Linked DNA regions of Homo sapiens: region 1 is linked to region 2. The links are contacts of gene promoters, found by promoter capture Hi-C in human tissues and cell types (Jung and others, 2019). All regions are on one chromosome and are shown on one strand. Each heading gives the region's core, a stretch centred on a gene start or on the middle of the fragment in contact. The rest is flanking DNA. Distances are from core to core; before and after follow the strand shown. Region 1 holds the start of NUDT18 (nudix hydrolase 18). Region 2 overlaps CCAR2 (cell cycle and apoptosis regulator 2).

Region 1 (4,418 bases), core at 745-3,244, 510 kb after region 2:
CATGTGTGTGCCGCAAGACACACACACACACACACACACACACACACACACACACACACACAGAGCAAATATGTTGACAAGTTGCTCTGCAGTCCTGGGGTCCTGTGCCTGCAGTTATTTGGAAGGTGAGAGGTCCATGATAGGGCCTGGCCCAGCGGCGTTCAGCAAGTGCCTCAAAATTCATGGGCCTTCTAGTGATATCCCACAGCCTAACACAGGGCCCTGCCTCCAGGGAGCCTGTGGTCAGTATCAGCAGGTGAGAGGAGCCTAAAGAGATGCATCCTGCGTTGCTGAAGTTCCTGAGTCCAGTTCTAAGGCAGCTCTACAGGCACATTTCGCCAGGCATGGTGGCTCATGCCTGCAACCACAGCACTTTGGAAGGCCAAGGTGGGAGGATCACTGAGGCCAGGAGTTCAAGACCAGCCTGGGCAATACAGCAAGACCCTCGTTTCTACAAAGAATTAAAAATTAAAAATTTAGCCAGGCGTGGTGGTGCACACCTGCAGTCCCAGCTACTCAGGAGTCTGAGGCAGGAGGATGACTCGAATCCAAGAGATCAAGTCTGCAGTAGGAGCTGTGATCACGCCACTGCACCTCCAATCTGAGCAACACAGTGAAACCCTGACTCTAGGGGATAACAAAAGTCACATTTCATGAGGGCAGGCCTTGCGTGTGGTAGCAAGAGCTATGGTGGAGAGGGACCACCCCTGAGGGTTGGTGGGCTGCCTGGGGACGGTGCCCAGTGCTGGACAATCCACACAGCTCCTCTCCAATTGTTGTGGCTTCCCAACACCCCTGTAAAAGAAGAATTGCTATGATCCTGCTCTACAAATAAGAAAATTGAGGCCCACAGCTCACCCAGGAGCACAGAGCAAGCCAGTCAGCAGTGGCTGGCCATCTGGCTGCAGGTCCTGAGCTTTGTCCACACCACCAAGCCACAGTCTCCCTAGCAGGGAGGCGCACAAAACTATCAGAGGCAGAGGAAAGGGGTGGCCTCTGCCAGGTGAGGAGCCAGACGGCCTGCTTCGCAGATCCCTTCCAGCTGGCTTTGCCTTCCAGTGCTGAGGTGGGGTGAAGGAGGAAAGGCCGAGCTGGGAGAGGAGCAGGCGCTCGCCACAACCACCCCCACCCTGCTCTCCACGCGCCAGGTCCTGCACGCTGGGTGGGAGGGTGACGACAAGGATGGAGGAGCAGGGCCCCACCCCCGCCCTCCCAGGGCGCACCATCTGCAGCAGAGAGGGCCTTGAGCTGCGTGGGAAATGCGGTAGGCAGAGGGACACTGATGAGGGTGGGCCGGCTGACGGCAGCCTTCTCTCAGCCCCGGACCCCTCCCGCCATCCCCAGCCCTGCCCCCTCCCTCCTTCCAGCGCCTGTCACTCTTCCTGCCCAAACCAAGCATTTAGCACTTAGCCTCGAACCCTCAGCTGACTCCTCATCTAGGACTCCGTCCATCTCTCCAACTATTGCAGAATCTCCTTCAAGGCAGGGGTTTATGTCCCCCACCCCACGGGCCATGTGACATTTATAACTCTTTGGTGGAATGAGAAGAAAGGTATTTGGGATATGATCAACTCCGGCAATGCCATTGTGTGTTTACGGCAACAGCGGGACAGTGGTTCCAGGGGGCGGCCCCGGGCCTCCGTGACGTCACCGGATTGTCGCGTCACCGTCGCCTACCCCGGCGGCGCAACGCGCCCTGCAGGAAAGATGACGTCACCGTCGGAGCTCCTGCAGACCAGTGCGCGCTCGGGGAGTTGGCGAGCGGGTGGCGGCTGGGAGACGTCCCGAGCGCACGGGACTGACAGGCGGCAGAAGCCGGGCGGGGTCCGCTGGGCTCCGGACCCGTGCCCCCCCAGTTCCAGGGCGGCCCCGGGCGGCCCCGCCCCCTCGGTGAATGCCGCGGGCCGGCCAATCCGGGCAGGCCGCGGCGCCGCGCAGCCTATCAGCGGCCAGAGCTCGCGTGCGCTTCCGCGTTCGCGTGCGCTTCCGCGTTCTCGTGAGCTCCCGGCCCGCTGCCGCAGGGACTGGGAGCGGGCTCCGCAGCGCACTCTAGCCCGCGGCTCGGCTCAGTCGGTCTGCGAGGATCCGGCCCGCCGCCCCCCGGGGGACCCGATGGCCTCGGAGGGCCTGGCGGGGGCGCTGGCTTCCGTGCTGGCTGGCCAGGGGTCCAGCGTGCACAGCTGCGACTCGGCGCCGGCCGGGGAGCCGCCGGCGCCCGTGCGGCTGCGGAAGAACGTGTGCTACGTGGTGCTGGCCGTGTTCCTCAGCGAGCAGGTGAGCGGCCGCCCCCGGGCCCGCCGGGCCTCGGGAGCGCGCAGCCAGCCCAGGTGGGGACAGAAGACCCAACGGCCACAGCCAGCGCTGCCGCGTGCGTGGCGCTTCCCAGTTTTGCAAAGCACTCCCACTCCCACTCGCATCTGTGTCCTGCGTTCGTCCCGATATGCAGAAGAGGAAACTGAGGCCCGGGGCCTGTTTGTCTCATCCGACTAGGCCTCATTCCTTCCCTTCCCCAGAGTCTAGCGGAGTGCCCAGGGCCCCTCAGATAGCAGTGGCTCAATCCCGGCTTACCTTCAGGCCTTTGGTGCTGATGCCTGTAGTGGGCGATGTAATGACAACTAGACGGGGCCAGGGCCATAGGGCGGGGTTGTACAGAGCGGAGGTGGGGGTCGTGTTTCAAGCCAGACCCCAGTGTGAGGACCCATCACAGTTTGTAAACCACGCCGTTGGAGGCGAGAGATACACAGTGGCAGGTACAGACGCAAATCAATCCAAGACAGACAGACACATGGTGACCCTCACTCTGGGGCCTCATCTCCAGCCCCTGAAGCGGCTTCCAGGAATCTCAGCCCTTCCTGAAATGGAAGTCTTCCTAAATCCAGAGAGAGACGAATTGCAGAGAGGAGAGGGCTGCAGCCCCCAGCGACACGAGGGCAGGTCTCCTGGAGCGCTAGCTGGGTTGAGAGTGTCCACCCAGAGGGGAGTCTTGGGCGACTGTGTTTGAGATGCCCCCTGGTCCCGGGGCGAGGGAAGGCTGTGGCAGGAAGTGAGGATCCTCTCTCCTCTCAGGATGAGGTGCTACTGATCCAGGAGGCCAAGAGGGAGTGCCGGGGGTCGTGGTACCTGCCTGCGGGGAGAATGGAGCCAGGGGAGACCATCGTGGAGGCGCTGCAGCGGGAGGTGAAGGAGGAGGCGGGGCTGCACTGTGAGCCCGAGACACTGCTGTCCGTGGAGGAGCGGGGCCCCTCCTGGGTCCGCTTCGTGTTCCTCGCTCGCCCCACAGGTATGGCCCACCTGGAGGCAGTGTGAACAGGGCCAGTTGACACCTTTCCCCCAGCTCCTCGGTGAGGTGAGCCCCTCTACAGCCAGTCCTGTTATGGCTGGCACAGCCTGGCATGGGCAGATTCCAGCCTTTGGGCTGGGGGCCTCTCTCCTGGGTCAGGGATGTCTGTTGACTCTGCCAGAGCTGCACTTCTCTCCACACAGACCCTCCCTGCCCCATCCCCCACATCTCCCCCAGGTGGAATTCTCAAGACTTCCAAGGAGGCCGATGCGGAGTCCCTGCAGGCTGCCTGGTACCCACGGACCTCCCTGCCCACTCCGCTGCGAGCCCATGACATCCTGCACCTGGTTGAACTAGCCGCCCAGTATCGCCAGCAAGCCAGGCACCCTCTCATTCTGCCCCAAGAGCTACCCTGTGATCTGGTCTGCCAGCGGCTCGTGGCTACCTTTACCAGCGCCCAGACAGTGTGGGTGTTAGTGGGCACAGTGGGGATGCCTCACTTGCCTGTCACTGCCTGTGGCCTCGACCCTATGGAGCAGAGGGGTGGCATGAAGATGGCCGTCCTGCGGCTGCTGCAGGAGTGTCTGACCCTGCACCACTTGGTGGTGGAGATCAAGGGGTTGCTTGGACTGCAGCACCTGGGCCGAGATCACAGTGATGGCATCTGTTTGAATGTGCTGGTGACCGTGGCTTTTCGGAGCCCAGGGATCCAGGATGAACCCCCAAAAGTTCGGGGTGAGAACTTCTCTTGGTGGAAGGTGATGGAGGAAGACCTGCAAAGCCAGCTCCTCCAGCGGCTTCAGGGATCCTCTGTTGTCCCAGTGAACAGATAGAGAGGTGGGGGAGGTGACAGGGAGCTAGGCAGCCGTGCTCCCTCCAGTGCGGACTTGTCTCCCTCTGAGGGAGGCAAGAGGCTGGCGATCAGGGATCTTGTTGCATTGGGAGCAGGGGCGGCTCTCCTGGTCCCCAGGAGAGATGCTTTGAGGAGCATTCCTCTAGATTGCACAAGGGACAGTGCCTTTAACCAAGCGAGGAGTCCAAAGCTCAGGACCTGACTACCCTGAGGGCACGCTGACGCCTCTTCCCAGGGGGATGGGGAGCTTTCTGCACCCCCAGTGGCATCTCCTCATCACGTTCT
Region 2 (4,833 bases), core at 1-2,500:
TAGGTGTGCTACTTACTAGCTGTGCGGCCTCAGTCCATGCCGAGCAAGGGTGCAGGGAATGAGCTAAGGCACAGGAAGCGCTCGGAACAGAGCCCGGGGTAAAGGTGCGCGGTCACGGTAAGCACTATGACAGCCCGAGGTGGCAGGGTACTCACCAGCGGGGCCTCTGACTCTGTAGCCGGGCCCTCATTCTGTGCCTCATCCTTGGGCTCCTTGACCACCTCCTCTTTGATGGCTTCTTCCTCCTTGGTGGCTTCTTCCTTGGCCGCCTCCTCCTTCTCAGGTTCAGGTGGGGACACGACCTTTTCAGGAAGGCTCAGTAGCATCTTATAAACTCTATAGCCAAAATCCCTCTGGAGCATCTCCAGAAACAGCTCGGCCAGCACCATCACCTGATGGGGAGGTGGGAGGGTCCATGAGCATCAGGAAGAAAGACTGCTTCAGGCCCACAAATCCCAGCCCACAGCCTCCCCAAGACTCTTGACACCTGCCTCAAAAGAGATCCTTTCCTTTGGCCTCCGATCCTCCACAATCCCATGGAGGGACAGGTTTACACAGCCAGGGCGTGCGATGACAGCAGGTTCTAGGGGGGGTGGAGGGGCCTCTGGGAGATCAGTGTCCGTTTCCTGCTGTGTGGTGGCCTCTGGAGTTTCTGCGTTCCGTCTAGAAGTGTCTGCTGCTTGCTCCAAGGCATCAGGTGCCTGTTCAGTAGGCTCCGTTTCCTGTGACAACAGCTGAAATGAGACCCTCTGGGTCCCGGGATTAGGCCACCTATATCCCCCGCTGCTGGCTAAGGCACAGCCTTACCCCTTGTGCCTCCTGGGTTGGGGGAGCTGCCTCTGCAGCTTTCTGCTGGCACAGGGCCTCCCACTCCTCCAAAGTAGGCATGATGGTCCAGACATCCGGCAGGTACACCACCACTGTCTGAAGCCGCCGGGGGGGTCCCGGCTGCAGGTACTGAAACTCGGCAAAGCGCCACCTGCACATGGCAAAAGGAGGTACTAACTTCTTTAGTGACAACTCCACGCAGACACCACGTTCACAGGCAAGGGCTTCAGTTTCCAGTCAGCACTCAATGAGCACACACTGCGAACCAAGCTTTGAAGACACAACAGGAAAGCTACAGACCAAGTCCTCAAGAAATGATCAGTCAGTGGGGAGGCCGCAACCACACAAGCACCCTACAAGGTGCAAGGACAACTCCAGGGAGTCTCAAGTGCAGCCTGGTGGCTCAGCCAGATTTTGGCATACACCCCACCCTACCCTGAGGCACCAGAGGGGGAAGGAACGGGACTAGGGGGCAGAGAGCTAACCAGCAGAAAGGGGCAGGGACCGGGCCTTCCCAACAAAACCTCCCCAACCTGGTGCGTTGGTGCAGCTGAGGCTCAGGAAGCCCACTCACCACTTGGTACAGCCGCTCAAATCAATGCCAGTCTGGGCCTGCGCACAGCGGATGGCGGTACGCACCAGCACCTGCGGGTCAGCCTGGGGGTCGAGGCCATCCAGGGAAGGAGACCATTCACCCCCAACCAGCACTGCCTCCTCTTCTTTCCTGCCCAGCAAAAACTGCAAGAAGAGATCAGGGATACAAAACAAAAAACTACATTACCTGGGTCTCCCACTGCAGGGCAAGGCTGCCACCCATCAGGATGAAGGCAGCCGGAAGTGGGGAAGTCCACCACACAGTGAGGTCTCTATCTGCAAACATGAACCAGCCACCTCGCTCTCTCTGACTAGTCGTAACAGCTCTGAGCTGCACCTTCCTCCTGGGTGAAATGAGGGGTGTTCGGCTCTGAGATGCCTCGTTTTATGCATTCAGGAACAGGAGCCGAACACTCAAAACATGACAGGTTGTGCACATTACCCGTGAATGCATCTCCTCCTGCTCTCCAGCTCTTACCTTAATCTGCTTCAGAGGATGCTCTGGCGTCTCCCTTGGCTCAGCCATGTCATCCACAAAGAGCATGCAACAACGATACAATTCCTCCAACCCCGGGGAAGAGAGCAGCAGTACCTGTGCAGGAGGAGACACTCAGAGCTGCCTTCAGCCTCCAGAAATCAGATAAGTGAGAGACGCCTGTCAGCTTACCTTCGAACTATAAGCGGGGTCACTGTCTGCAGTGATGGGCTCAGCACCAGCGTCTGGAGCTGCCTCCTTTTCAGAAGAGACCTGGATCCGGCTTGGATGATGGAGGGAAAAGGGCTGGCTCAGGGGGAAGGCTGATAGCCAACTCAGATGCACGGACAGAAAATCTGAGGGGACCAGGAGGCTGCGGTAACGGCGCTGGAGTTCTAGGAAGTCACAGATGGGGCTACAGGAAGACAGCAAGGGAATCCAGACTGAGCAAAGACTAAAACATTCGAAATGAAACCATCAAAGATTTGAAAAAATGGGCGAATTTTTTTTCAGTCTGAGAACTTTTGAAGTAAGGCACCTCTCAAGGAAGCTAGATCAGATCTGACCACTTAATTTACAAACTCTAGATGGCAAAAGTCAAACTGGGAAAGGGAAAAAAGAAAACACTTATAACACATGACAGAGAAATGGGTCATTGCCTTAATATAAAGGAACTCACAAATCAGTAACAAAAAGTTCAAAAGCCTAAAACGGAAAATTGACATCAATAGGTTCTTAAGAGAAATACATAAGAATTAGAGGCCAGGAAAATATGCTCAATCTCACTTACAATTAAAGAAATGCAAACCACATTATCATGTGTCACCAACTAGACAGACAAAGATGAAAAAGTCGGCTAACAGTGTTGGCAACGGCACGGGGAAATAAGGTCTCCACACCCCACTGGTTAGAGCAGAAGGGGCACAGCCTCTTCAGGAGAACTGGCAATAGCTATGGAAGCTTAAAGCAAAGCCTTTGAGCCAGCTGCTCCATTTCTAGAAATTGATCGCAACAAACACACAGGTGTAGGTAGAAGGATGTTCATTCCAAGAAAATTTAGGATAGAGTGCAAATGGAGAACTGGGTAAATAAATCATGTTCATCCATTCAATGAATACTGTGTAGTTGCTAAAAAAAAAAAAAAAAAAAAAGAACTAGATCTAATAAATGTTCATACGAAATAAAATCTAAAGTACATTCAGTGAAAAGGCAAACCACCAAACAGTATGTACAACAGGTTTCCATGTGCTTTTCGTTTTGTAAGAAAAGGCTGTAAGAACATACATGTGCACTTGCATAGACGCCATCTCATTTACATAAGAAACTATTACCAGCAGCAAGACTCAGCCCACCTCAGCCTCGCCACTCACCTGTCCACAGTGTAAGGAGTGAGGTGGACCCGGTAAGGAGGCAGGTCATGCCTTGGCTTCTTAGCACCCCAGGGCTCTCCACCAGCCCGCTGTTTGCGTTTCTTGGAGTCATAGTCATCACTAGAGGTTGACCCATCACCAACAGTAAGAAACCACATTGTTATATGTATTCAATACAAACTGAACTAAAAGAACTGGAAACAATCGAAATCCCTCACATTCAATAAATGGAAAAAGAATCCATGCTAACAGCCATATGACAGAATGTTATAAAGATATTAAAATGGATATTTACTGTTTTAATAAACATTCCTGTTAAGCAAAAAGCACACTCTGCAACATTGTATACACAGTAGGCCTCAGCTACTGCAAAAACAACTTTAGAAGACTGAAAGGAAATAAAATATTAATGATGGAAGCCTCTGGAAAGCTTACGAATAATTTTCTATTTTTCTGCACTTCATTAATTATAGTTAACGTGATTTTTTTGAAATGAGAAAAAAATGATTTTTCTTTTAAAAACAAGAGACGCATATATGGATCCATGCTATGCGTCCTTTAAAGTAAATTTGGCCGGGCGCGGTGGCTCACGCCTGTGATCCCAGCACTTTGGGAGGCCAAGGCGGGCAGATCACGAGGTCAAGAGATCGAGACCATCCTGGCCAACATGGTGAAACCCCGTCTCTACTAAAAATACAAAAATTAGCTGGGCCTGGTGGTGCGTGCCTGCAGTCCCAGCTACTTGGGAGGGTGAGGCAGGAGAATCGCTTGAACCCAGAAGGTAGAAGTTGCAGTGAGCCAAGGTTGCACCACTGCACTCCAGCCTGGTGACAGAGCAAGACTCCGTCTCAAAAAAAAAAAGTAAATTTTATTAGAAGAGACGGTTACAAGGCTGGGCGCGGTGGCTCACGCCTGTTATCCCAGCACTTAGGGAGGCCGAAGTGGGCGGATCACTTGAGGTCGGGAGTTCAAGACCAGCCTGGCCAACACGGTGAAACCCTATCTCTACTAAAAATACAAAAAAGTAGCCAGGTGTGGTTGCACACGTCTGTAATCCCAGCTACTCGGGAGACTGAGGCAAGGAGAATCGCTTGAACCGGGGAGGCGGAGGTGGCAGTGAGCCGAGATCGCGCCATTCCACTCCAGCCTGGGCAACAAAGCGATACTCTGTCTCACCAAAAAAAAAAAAAAGAGAGACAGTTACAAATCCTTAATAATACACATTAAAGTCATAAAAACACTCAAACCATTTGCTCCAGTAATTACACTCTTGAAAATTTGTCCCAAGAAAGTTAATTCAAAAGAAGAAGAAAGACTACACATAGTGGAAAAATATGAAGCAGCATAAACTGAGAGTAAAAAACCAAATACATACTCAGCAATACCCAAATTTTCATAGTAAATACAAACAATCACGCAGCCATTAAAACACTCAGGATTATGCTGCAATATGGAAAACTGTTTATAAATACACAAAAATAATTTGAACTGTAAGATTAAAATTGCAAAAAGTATGCACATGTATAGATAAAAACTAGAACACAGGAGAAAAGAGTGGCAAGAGAT

The links. Contacts are between HindIII fragments. The study calls those that stand out against the background at their distance.
Region 1: the fragment with the promoter of NUDT18 here is called in contact with a fragment that was not itself captured in region 2 in 1 of the 25 tissues and cell types used here (dorsolateral prefrontal cortex).

Annotation. Positions count from the first base shown.
Region 1 is chr8:22,106,995-22,111,412 of GRCh38, reverse strand. It overlaps NUDT18 (nudix hydrolase 18), which reads left to right and starts at 1,994. Exons shown (of 3, transcript NM_024815.4): 1 at 1,994-2,274; 2 at 3,067-3,280; 3 at 3,518-4,418. The coding sequence starts at 2,113. The coding sequence ends at 4,113. RefSeq lists a silencer at 1,641-2,420, enhancers at 2,880-3,653, 4,050-4,194 and a cis regulatory region at 4,122. The HindIII fragment of the contact is 26,002 bases long and covers 1-4,418 here.
Region 2 is chr8:22,611,571-22,616,403 of GRCh38, reverse strand. It overlaps CCAR2 (cell cycle and apoptosis regulator 2), which reads right to left. Exons shown (of 21, transcript NM_001393997.1): 8 at 3,268-3,387; 9 at 2,090-2,312; 10 at 1,901-2,014; 11 at 1,403-1,566; 12 at 808-979; 13 at 492-722; 14 at 156-392. Among named protein-coding and RNA genes, the nearest start is that of CCAR2, 9.2 kb to the right of the region's middle. The HindIII fragment of the contact is 7,299 bases long and covers 1-4,833 here.